Linked DNA regions of Homo sapiens: region 1 is linked to region 2. Evidence: promoter capture Hi-C in 16 types of primary human blood cells and fetal thymus (Javierre and others, 2016). All regions are on one chromosome and are shown on one strand. The core of a region is centred on a gene start or on the middle of the fragment in contact, and the rest is flanking DNA. Distances in the headings are between cores, read along the strand shown. Region 1 has its middle 38 kb from the start of MIR2114. Region 2 holds the start of MTM1 (myotubularin 1).

Evidence for each region. Contacts are between HindIII fragments. The CHiCAGO score rates a contact against its expected background, and 5 or more counts as called.
Region 1: a contact is called between a fragment that was not itself captured here and the fragment with the promoter of MTM1 in region 2, in 1 of 17 cell types (M1 macrophages). The highest score is 5.8, in M1 macrophages.

The regions. Positions count from the first base shown.
Region 1 is chrX:150,187,349-150,193,628 of GRCh38, reverse strand. No RefSeq gene overlaps it. Among named protein-coding and RNA genes, the nearest start is that of MIR2114, 38 kb to the left of the region's middle. The HindIII fragment of the contact is 2,479 bases long and covers 768-3,246 here.
Region 2 is chrX:150,564,574-150,570,396 of GRCh38, reverse strand. MTM1 (myotubularin 1) reads right to left here and starts at 1,776. Exons shown (of 15, transcript NM_000252.3): 1 at 1,735-1,776. RefSeq lists a silencer at 1,295-1,974 and enhancers at 3,259-4,180, 4,181-5,103. The HindIII fragment of the contact is 5,391 bases long and covers 1-3,666 here.

The DNA.
Region 1 (6,280 bases), core at 758-3,257, 380 kb after region 2:
GGCTGACATCATGGGTGAGGGCAGGTCCGATTCTGCAGATGATAGTAAGCCATCAAAGCTCTTAAGTAAGGGAGGTGGCACCATGCATAGCCATGTGCAATGGTTCTCAGAGTAGGATCTGTGGACCCGTGGAGGTCTCCAAGACCCTTTTAGAGGATCCTCAAGGTGAAAACTATTTTCCCAATAATACTGAAATGTTCTTTGATATTCCACTGTCATGCTTTCCATTTGCACTGCTGGTGCAAAAGCAGAGGTAGGTGAAAAGAGCAGGTTCCTGAGCATGAATTGGGACCATGGCACCAACTGTACTAGTTGTCAATTGGATTCTTCACCACCACACACCTGCAGTTTAAAAAATGCCAGCTTCACTTACGAATGTTCTTAGCGAAGCAGTGAAAATTAACTTTATTAAATACTAGCCCTTGAGTCCCCTTATTTTTAAAATTTGGTGAGACACAATGAGAACTATGCTCAAAGCAGTTCTGCTGGAATCAAAGTGTAGTCGTTGACTCAAGGCAAAGCACTACTGCGTGTTTTGAGTTGTGAGCTAAACTGGCCGATTTTTCATAGAACATCATATTTACTTGAAAGAATGACTAACTAATGTTACTCAGACTTGGGTATTTGGCAGACATTTTCTTGTAGATGAACGAAGTGAGCCTGTCACTTCAAGGAAAACAACTGACTATAGTTTTTGCCAATGATAAAATTTGAGCCTTCAGGCAAAAATTTGAATTTTGAAAAGCTTGTATCCACCACTGTAAGCTTGACAGCTTCTCAACAGTTAAAGGCTTTTTCCAACGAGATGGGTCATAATATTAACAAATGTGATCTTGTGATGTTGTGGAATGAAATATGTCAACATATGGAGGCTCTCCATAAGTCAGGGCACCACCATTTTTTAAAGCGACCAATACACAATGTTACCAAACAATAAATAGGTAAAAAATCCATTCAAAAGACAAGAGAGTCCAACGGAACCAAGTAGAGAAGGCTCACTGATAAAGTTTTGCATCCCACATTACACTTAACCTGTAAAAAACAACCATTGGTGGAGTTTTTGTGTCCTATCAAAGACAAATGTCCACAATGATCTGAAAAGTCTATTAAAATATTCCTCCCTTTCTCAACTTCATATTAGTGTGAGGCCAGATTTTCTTCATGTACTTCAACCAAACAACATCTCACAACTGAATAAAGAAGTAGATGTGAGAATCCAGCTGTCTTCTAGCGAGCCAGACATAAAAGAAATTTGCAAAAATGTAACATAATGCCACTCTTTTCAATACAAGTTTTTGTTTAGAAAAATATAGCTATTTTCATAAAAATACTATTTATATTTACATGTAATTAGTTCATTATTTTAATTTCAAAATAAATAAATATTTTAATATTTTTTCTAATATGGTAACATAAATAGATATGACCCACATAAACAAAAGGTCTTTGGAGGCCTCAATAAGTTTTTGTCATTGTTGTTGATTTACCTCATTATATCATTTTTTTTTCTGAAGTAAAATTCACATGACATAAAATTAACTACTTTAAAGTGTATAATCAGTGGCAGTAAGTATATTCTCAATATTGTGCAACCATCGCCTCTGTAGTTCCACATTTCCTTCACCCCAAAAGGAAGCCCCGTACCATTAAGGAGTCACTCCCCTTTCTGCTCTTTCCCCAGTCCCTGGAAACCACTAATCTCATTTCTGTTTCTGTAGATTTACTCTCAATAAGTTTCAAGAGTATAAAGGATCTGAGGAAAAAAGTTTGAGAGCCACTGGCTTAGTGGTTCAAATCCCAGCTCTGTTTTTATTAGCTGTGATTCCTTGCTCAAGTTGCTTAACTTCTAGGAGTCTCATTTTCCTCCCTAAAATGAAGATAATAATAATAGCATATTCAGAGGGCTATTGTGAGGATTAAATGGAATAATCATGTAAAGCTCCTGGCAGATAGTAGATAATAAATGGGAGTTCTTATCACCAAGACTGAATCCAGTCCCCACAAAGAAACACTGATTCCATTTCCATACACTCTGTAGACATGACTGGCAACACCTTAAGAACAAGAGGCAGCTTCTTCACCTCATTGTCACATGCTTACCAGCCATAAGGCTTTGGTGAGTAACTTTACCTCTCTGAGTTTTGTTTTCTTTATCTATAAAATGGGCCTAATTATAATACTAATCCCACAGGGTATTTGTGAGAATCAACACAGGAGTGAATGCTTACAATATTCTTGGCATGCAGGAGGCACTCAATGTCAGGTAGTTGTCTGGGAGGGGTTGCAACAATGATAACGACATAGATGAAAATGCTGACACTGTGTCTCTTGGCACCCTGTGGGCAGCTCAGGGGCTACCACCACAGGTTGGCCCTTCCTTTGGGCTGTTTCTTGTGATGGGCCCACAACCCCCTCTTTCCAGGAGATGGCAAGATCATCACATCACAGTCAGTTCAGTGGCCTAAGAGGCTTCATCTTTACTTAGCTGCTCTCTGTGCAGAGGCTGCTTGGGCTTTAGAAGAGTGAGTAAGTTTACACCAGGCTTTTTGCTAGAGCCCCATCTCAGCTGTAGCCCAAGACAACACTCTAGTTCCCTAGTTATGCACTCAGCTGGATTAAAGGGCACTTTGACTACTGGCTGGTGGAAGTTCCCAAGATACCCTAGAGAGTCCTTAGGGGCTCAAACTTAATCTTTTGGCATATCAAAGGAAAGAAACAAGGTCTGCCGCTGGCATCCATTCTGATGGTGCAGGGCTCCCTGTGGTAAATCTGTCTCCACTGCCATTGGCATGTGGATCCAGGACCTGTCAGGCCTGCAGCTATTGACCTTGAGCCTCTCAGTTGTAGGCTGACCACCATGAAGCTAGAGATGTCACCATTTAGCCACGCTTCACTGCAACATTTAACATCCTGCTGATACGGCTGTGAAATCTGAATTCTTGTCAAAGTGATATTGAGAGTGGTAAGCTGAGGAAGGCTGGCCCTCGCAGCCATGTGTCCAAGGGCAGGTCAGGTGGTAGGGTGGAGAAAAGACAAGACTGGGAATCAAGAGACTTACATTCAACCCTGGGGAGAGCTGGAGACATGAGCTGCCTGGGCCTCAATTTCCCCACTTGAAGAATGGAAGGTTGTACTAGCTCAGGGCTAACTTTAGTTAGCATTAGTCAGGGAGCAACTGCCACTGAATATTCACTTTCCTGGGCCCTTGAGGAGATTCTTTGTGATTTATTTTGCCCTGGAGAAGCTTGTTCTGGTCCTGAGGACCTGGATGAACAGGAACTTCTATCCTGGGTGGGTGATATAACTCATCACATATCACAAAGAAAGCTGGCTGGCTCAAAGCTTCATCCCAATGGGAAAGGATCTGTCTTAAGCTTCTTCTCCCATCCAAACACCCCCACTTACCAAAACTCATCTTGGCAACACTGGCTTAAAAGCCTTCTTGCCTCTGCCCTTTTACAAACTCATACAGCTGGACTTGAGTCCTCCTAGTGTCCCACTAGCAGCCGTTTGGAGGAGGGGATCCAGCTCATCTAAAGGACTTTGGTGGCCCAAGGGTGCCACTTCCCTGTCAGGAGGTTAGCAGCAGTGGGGAGAAATAGAGCAAGCATGAAGGGAATCCATGATGTGCACAGAGGGGGCACTTATGGAGACAGTGGCCAAAAAAAAGATTGGCATATCTGTTGATGGGGGATGGCAGTAGGTGAGCACAGGGTGGGCAAATAGGAATACACCTCAGTCAGGGCTGGGGAAGTTTATTGGGTGGGTTTAGGAATCTCTGGATTTCTGTGTTCCAGACTTCGCCTGGGGATAATATAGACTGGGTCCCTGACATACCATGTGCTCCAAGTGGAATGGGTTCTGAATGACTGAAATGTTTACCCCCCTGGCACTCTATCTGACGATCTGCACTGATGTACTCTGAGGATGCTGAGTCCATGTGCTATCAAAGGCATGGAAGTGGCTGGGAGGGACGAAGGATGAAAACAGGAGCCAGTGTAAAGTGGGAGAGGTTAGGGCTGCTGGGCTTGGGCTGGAGAAGCAGCCCCTTTATATAGTCATTGGAGCCTCGGGGCATGACGCTAGAGAAAGACAGCATGGAGGGCCCACTTGGCCTGTCCAGATGAGGATAGACTTTTACATCCACTTTAGATTGAGTGGAGGAGAGGTCCACAGGGGTGCCTTAGAGTAGAGGTCAACAGACAAGAATCCTCCGTGCTCAAAGTCTGCCTTTATCTTCTCAAGGATGCAAGATAGTGCTGAATATGCCACTCCTCTTTCCCCTGATACCATGTTGACAAAATGTTCATTCAATTCTTTCAAAAAAATCCAAACACAGTAATCTTCCTGAGGAATTCAGAATTTTCTTAATTTCTGTCTGACATCCCTGCCTCTCTGGGGAGGTAGAGGTAGGAAAGAATATAGAAATTGTCCAAGTCTGAAAGTTGGCTCTAAGGAAACTTTATGCTGCAAAGCAGACATGCAAAATCTCTCTTGTAGTTGTCACAATGATATTAAATTACCTACTTTATTCATTTATGAGGCTCAATGCGAGCAGCAAATCTTAGCTGGCAGGCCCCAGGCCTGGGCTGTTGAGGGAAACAGGTGGTATGTGAGCACACACACCTTGTCAAGGCCTTTCTTGATGTCTCCCAGTGGCCTGAGTCCTCCTATAGGGCCTGCCCAGGCTTCAGGCCTCACTACCACTTGCTGCCTGGGAGTACATGACTACATGGCCCTCACTGTTCACCCAGCTTGAGCCATGCTCTTGCAGATGGAAAAAGAGCATACATGCATACTTGACCTCTGCCCTGTGAGGTAAGCAACACAGATATCAATAGTCCTGTTTCACAGACAAAGAAATTGAGGCCCAGAAAGGTTAAGTGATTGGTCATACTCAGCTGGCAGTAATAGAGCTGTGTCAAAACTCAGCTTCTCTGACTCCAAGCTCAGTTACCTTGCCATTCTGCATGCTGCCTCCTGAACTGGCCATGAACACTCTTTGAAGAGGTCATCTCAGAGTGAGGACACAAGTTGGGGTATCTGTCTCCACAGTTCTTCCCCATTCACTCTGTGAATGCAAACATGAATTTACGTTTGGCAAATATCAGTTAATATATCACTTCCATAGATAATTGAAAATTGGCTCTTGCCTGGGTGCAGTGGCTCATGCCTATAATCTCAGCACTTTGGGAAGCCAATGGGGGAGGATCACTTGAAGCCGGGAGTTTGAGATCAGCCTGGGCAACATGTTGAAATCACATCTCTTCAAAAAATAAAAAAAAAAATAGTGGGGTGCAGTGGCACGTGCCTGTAGTCCTAGCCACTTGGGAGGCTGAGGTGGAAGGACTGCCTGAGCCCAGGAGTTTGAGGCTGCAATGAGCCATGATCATGCCACTGCACCACAGCCCTCCAACCTGGGTGACAGAGTGAGACCTTGTCTAAAAAAAAAAATAAATAAAACCGAAAATTATCTCTCAAAATTACGGCAAAAAGATGAGACCTCTGGGTTAGTGAATTCAGGAGTCAAGGGGTAAGATTTTTAAGATGAATCCAGATATGGCATTAACTTTAGTAGGTGTTTAAAGAAGAGTTACAGCCATGTGAATACCCTGCTGTAAGACCTAGGTGATGATGAAAACTATTGTAGGCTGGATAATGGCCCCAAATCTGGAACTTCTAAATGTTACCTTATATGGAAATAGCATCTCTGCAGATGTGAATAAATTAATAATTTTGAGATGAGGATGTTATCCTCACATCTTCATCCATTTGGGTAGGCTCTAAATGCAACATCATGTGTCTTTATAAGGGGGAGGCAGAAGGAGATTTGACACAAATGCACAGCCCTGGGAATAGGAGTGCTACCTAGCCCTGCCACTTCCTAGCTGGGTTGTTTTTGGCAACTTGAAGGATAGGAATGGAACATACCCTCTTAGAGTCCACAAAAGTTAAATGAGAAAATATATGATGGATGGTAAGCACTCAAAAGAAGATGGCCATTATCATCTTTCTTTATTCGTGAAAACATAAGAACTCTTTTCATATGTAGTAGGGCTGAATAATTGGCCCCCATGATGCTCACATCATAATCCCCAGAAGCTGTGAATATGTTACCTGACATGACAAAAAGGACTTTGCAAATGTGATTGACTTAAGGATCTTGGGATGGGGAGGTCATTTTGGATTTTCAGGATTTGCCCTAAACGTAATCAACAATGATTCTTCTAAGTGGGATGGAGGAGGGTTAGAGTCAAAGAAGGAGATGTAATGACAGAAG
Region 2 (5,823 bases), core at 527-3,026:
TTACTGGAGCAGCAGCTGGCAATCTAAAACTAGAAATTCAAAGTAATGCCCAAGTCATTCTCAATCATGCCAGCCTGTTTCACTGTCATTGTAAGGTTTCAGAGCTCTATTTTTTCTCATAGCGCTCATCTCTGCCAGAAAATATATCATTGTTTATTTTTTTATTGTGTGCCTCCCCACATATAAACTCTATAAGGCAGGGACCTCAGCAGTGGGGCTCTTTGCTGTCTTCCCAGTGCCCACCGTTGGCATTCTTGTGTTTGATGAATGAATGAAACCATCGACAACTTAATAAATGTAGTTAGAACTTTAAGTTAAAGAGACCAATCATTTACTAACTACACTAGAATCTACAAGCCCCCCGTGAATGTTATCCACCCTCAAGCACCCGGGAGGGTACTATACACTGGTGCTGCAGGCAGCACCACTGGTTCAAATCTCCCCCATGGTGTGGAATCTCTGAAAAGTAGATTTGATTTTGTGAAGCAGCCAAAAGCCATTCAGAATCAAATCTGGTGAATACATGATCGTGCCCAATATATATGTTGGATGAAGGCAAACGTGTCTGCAAAGTAACAGGCCTGATTGTCTTATTTGGTTGGTAAACCGATTTTGAAGGAAATTCAAAATGGTTTGCAGTCTAGCAAAATTGCTGGCTCAGTCTCAAGACTCTAAGGTGCTTATTTCACAAGGAATAATACTGAGCTGTGGTAAAAAGAATCCAGACTAGACAGACACCAAGATACCCCCAAAGAGCTGGCTTGTGATATTAGCTTTGCCATTAAGTTGCCCTGAAGCCCGGGACATATTAGTTACCCTCTCTGGGCCTCAGTTCCCCCATCCAGGAAACAAATGAACAATGTAAACTTCAGGATGCCAGTCAATTCTAAAATGCTATAATTTTATTCTTGTGAAGATCTGGTGTATCTGTTTCAAAACCAGTCGCAACCCACTTCGCCTCAAACGATGCGTGCGTCTATAAAGCTCTAATATAATTTTTGCAGCAGATTCACTTCTTACTTGCTTAGGCAAATACTAAAATTAGTTTTCACTTCCTGAGCGCAGCAAAAGACAGTTAAGGGAGGCAACCCGGCCACGGGCGCTTGCTCGTGCCTGTACATACTTCCGACTGCGTATCAGGGAACTAACCGTTCCCTCTAAGATCTTCCCTCAACTGTTGCAAAAGCAGATAAACCTCTCGTGTATGACACAGAAACACTGGCCGAGAGCGGCCATCGAGGCTTCGCGGCCAGTGCCGGGCTGCGGCCGCTCCGCAGGGCCCACCGGGGATGCGACGGACGCCCGCTCCGTGCGGAGGGCCAAGGCGAGGACCAGCCGCGGAGCGTCGCCGGGGAGGCAGGGCGGACGCCCGGCCCACTCACCGCCCCGGGACGGGGAAGCAAAGTCCAGGCAGTGGCTGAGACGTCCGCCCCCAGCTCCACGGCCAGCCAACCCCTACCCCCGTCCCGACCTTCGCCCGCCGCCGGCCGGCCACCTTGGGCGGGGAGAACGGGAGGAAGCCGGAGGTACCTGCCTGCTGCTCCCTGGCCTCAGCCCTGCCCCGCGGGGACAGCGACGGCGCTTGGACGAAACCCCCACCCAACCCTGACGGTGCGGCAAGGCCCCGCGCGACCCGCTGGCCCAAGGAGTCCCAACTTCCTCCTCCCGATCCCCTCACCACGGGTCCCCGCAGTGCCCGGCTCCGAGCCAGGCCAGCCGTGAGCGCGCACCCACCTCGGGCTCCGGGCGCCACCGCCGTTGCCAGGCTGCTCGGCTGCCGGGCCCTGCTCCGCCCCCTCTGGGGTCCGCCCCCCACGGCCTGCCCGCCCCCGGCCACCGCCCGCTGCCCGCCTCCCCGTGCCGGTTGGCGGGACTGCATCACGTGACGGGGCAGGGGGCAGGAAGAGTGCGCCGGGTCGACCTGGGGAGCAGCTCCGAAGGGCGGGGCTCTTCGCCCGAGAGGCTGCTGGGAAGCCCATTTTGAAGGGTCCGACGCATGGAGGCAGCTGGGAATTGTAGTTCGCAATATGGTGCTGGGGATGGGCGGGGCCAAGATGCCAGGGGCCATCCCTGTAAGGGAAGTTGGACTGGGCGCCGGGCGGAGGCGGCTGGGAAGCGTAGTCCCGGGACCCTTGTCTGGGTCTCCCCATTTTTCTTCAGTAAAGGGGAAATCCAGAGGGAAAACTTCTCTATACAAGACTTTAGCGGATGCCACTAAATTGAGCTATTATTGGGTACACAGGGTTGGCTGCGTAAAGTTGAGATAGTATAAGGGAAAAAGAAATTTCACTGACTCTGGGGCAGGATCTGCAATTCACAAACTCAACTAACAGCTGGGGTGTCCCTCAGCTGTGCCAGCACCTTTCCAAGAACGCAATTGAGACTTAGTGAACGGAAACATTTCAGTCCAAAATTCCTTCTACTTGTTGAGGTTTGGGTCAGACAACTATTGATACAGTAAAAAGAAAGGGACAGGAAAAAGAGAAGAAAGGCAAACTTCAAGAAGAGAATTCATTGTGTAATCAAATAAAACAAACAATCTGGGCCGGGCGCGGTGGCTCACGCCTGTAATCCTAGCACTTTGGGAGGCCAACGCAGGCGGATCACCTGAGGTCAGGAGTTCGAGACCAGCCTGGACGACATGGTGAAACCTCGTCTCTACTAAAAATACAAAAATTATCCAGGCGTGGTGGCAGGTGTCTGTAATACCAGCTGCTCGGGAAGCTGAGGCAAGAGAATCGCTTGAACCCGGGAGGGAGAGGTTGCAGTGAGCTGAGATGGCACCACTGCACTCCAGCCTGTGTGACAAAGCGAGACTGCGTGTCAAAAAAATTAAAAAAAGAAAAGACAACCTGGCACATAGAAAAATGAGCATAATATTCTTTGTACTGCATAATACTTATACGCGAGCAGTTCGAGTAAATAGGATGACTTTATCATGACCTGTTTTTTTTCTCTTGTATGTGTTAGTTCTCCAGCATCTAAAAACAGCATTTTACCTGATACCAGTGTATATGTGTACGTGTGTTTCTACATAGTCACACACATATACACATATATTCATATATCATTTATATATGCATATATATATGCTTTATTGAAGAGTCTAGACTTCTTAGAAGAGTAACAAAGCCATCCAGAATCCAACCCAACCCACTCTTTAGCCACTTCTCCCAGTGTGCCTCTTTTTGCTCTTCACCCCAAGCTCTGGCCTAGTTCCAGGGAACTTGATGCACTGGGTTTTTTCTTTCCTCCAGCCCTTTCCACTTGGTCCTCTCTCCTGGATTTGCCAAACTCCTGGAAAGACAGCAGAATAGCAGCTGCTCCTGGGCCCCCGCACAATTAGAAGTCTCCCCCACCCAGCCCTTCTTGTTGTACTGATGTCATCATTTGCTTACACGTCTGCTCTGCCAACTCCCCTCCCCAGACTATGAACTCCTTTGAATCTCATTCACTTTTGTGCTGAATTTCAAAGCACGCTCAGTAAATTTGCATGCTAGAGAGGCTCCCTGGTGGGCTGCTGAATAACTCTGGATTCCTGGTATCTGTGAATCTTAGGGCAGAGGGATAGAGGAAAATGGGGATGGGTGGAGGGAGGGCAGCAGCTGCCTGGGATACCTTGCATATAATAGGCCTGGTTAAGTGTCCCAAGATGAGGCCAAAGCTTTTCGATGGAGCTGGGAGGAGCTGGGGGTTAGGAGGTGGGGAAGGTGCAGAGCAGGGATGGTCTCATCCTAAGGAGGTAATTCCTGAAGATTTTTCCAGGGTCCAGCCCCAGCCCAGCCCCACCTCTAGAAAGATGCAATTCAACCAGAAAGGGCCAGTAGAGAAGATTAGCCTTTGGCCTGTGAAATGGAGAGAGTAACCCCTGCCGTGCCTGTCTCACGGTGTAGGTGCAGAGATCGAATGAGGCAACAGATGAGGAAGCACTTTGAAAACTGTAAAGGTTGTACACTATGGGCTGGGCGCGGTGGCTCAGGCCTGTGATCCCAGCACCTTGGGAGGCCGAGGCGGGCGGATCACTTGAGGTCAGGAGTTCGAAACCAACCTGGCCAACATGGTGAAACCCCGTCTCTACTAAAAATACAAAAAAATTAGCCAGGCGTGGTGGTGGGCGCCTGTAATCCCAGCTAATCGGGAGGCTGAGGCAGGAGAATTACTTGAACCCGGGTGGTGAAGGTTGCAGTGAGCTGAGATTGCACCACTACACTTCAGCCTGGGTGACAGAGTGAGATTCCATCTCAAAACAAACAAACAAACAAGGTTGTACACTATGGAGGGGTTACCGCCTTGCCCTTGGTGACATCGCTGTATTCTTGACTGAGCCTGCCCTCTTCCAGGCTGGGGCTGCACTCACATTTCAGTGTGTGTGTGTGTGTGTGTGTGTGTGTGTGTGTGTGTGTAGGAATCTTCAGGCTTCCCTGCATTTTGCACACATACACCCCCCCATCATGCAGGAGGCCTGTGAGAAGATGGCTGGCCTCCCTCTCCAGGGCTCCAGGACAATAGAGAGGAGGGGGCAATAGATGCGACCTCAGGCTGCTTCTTCCACAACCCTTCTGAGTAGCACAGCCTACACCTGTTTCCGCCCCTCTCCCCCAGAGTCCTCCCGCTTTTGCTAAGGCACAGGCTGGAGGGCTGGAGGCACCTCCTACCTTCAGAGGCTTCATCCTGTTCTCTGCAGTTGGGGGAGGCAGGCTAGGCAGCACCAGGAGGAGCCTGCACTCTGGATTTGGTTGGCTTCATCCCTTACCTCCACCTCTGGCCTCTCACCTCCTAGATAAGAAGCAGGCCCGAGCGAGGAAATGGCCTGTTTCCTGCTACTTCTCCCTTGGCCTCTATGCTCTGATCTCCCCAGTCCCCACTCCTGCCTCAACTTAATCCTACCAGGTTCAATGTATTGGGCCTGAGGCAGGGGAAGGTGGAGGAAAGGGAGGGGCATTCTTACTGAGGAAAGAGAAGGCTGAAGAAAAAGAAAATTAGGAATGAAAAATTTTAAATGTAGCTGTGGGTTACCATGCTCTAGCAGAAAGCACTTGGAACTAGGAAACCTGATTCAGGTCCCAGAAATTCTATAGGCAAGCTGTTGGCCTTGGGAAAGTCACTTCACCTCTCTGATCATTAACTGCTTCCTCTGAAAAAAAGGGGTTGAATGCCACCTCCCAGGGTCGTTGTGTCCCCTTGAGGATAGATGTAAATGTGATGTATAGAGTGTCAAGGCAGCAGAATTCCCAAGTTGCCACGGTGATCACTGGGGAGAGAGATGGGAGAGGATAGGGGGTAAGCCCCTGTGCACTGACACAAAGGTTCCAGGGTTTAAATCCTAGCTCTTCCATTTGTTAGGTGTGTGACTTCGGGCAAGTACACCTCTCCAAACCTCTACTTCCTCATCTGTGAAATGGGTTTTATTCATTAACTCCTTCATAAGCTTGTTGTGAAGCACATGAATGCCAGGTCTAACTTCTGAATCTAGGAGAACTGCAAAGCAGCTCTGCCTACCTCCTCCTCCCCAACCCCAGTCTGTATTTAAAAAGCAGCCTCAGCAGGATAGTGCAGCCCCTTTGGAAAATGGTTTGGCAGTGAATTACAAAGGTAAATGTACATATGGCCGAGCAATACTATTCCTAGGTATTTATCCAAGATATATGGAAACATACGTTCACAAAAAGACGTGTATTCAAATATTCACAGCAGCCTTTCAAAAATAATAGTCAAAAGCTGGGCGCGGTGGTTCACGCCTGTAATCCCAGCACTTTGGGAGGCCGAGGTGGGTGGATCACAAGGTCAAGAGATCGAGACCATCCTGGCCAACATGGTGAAACC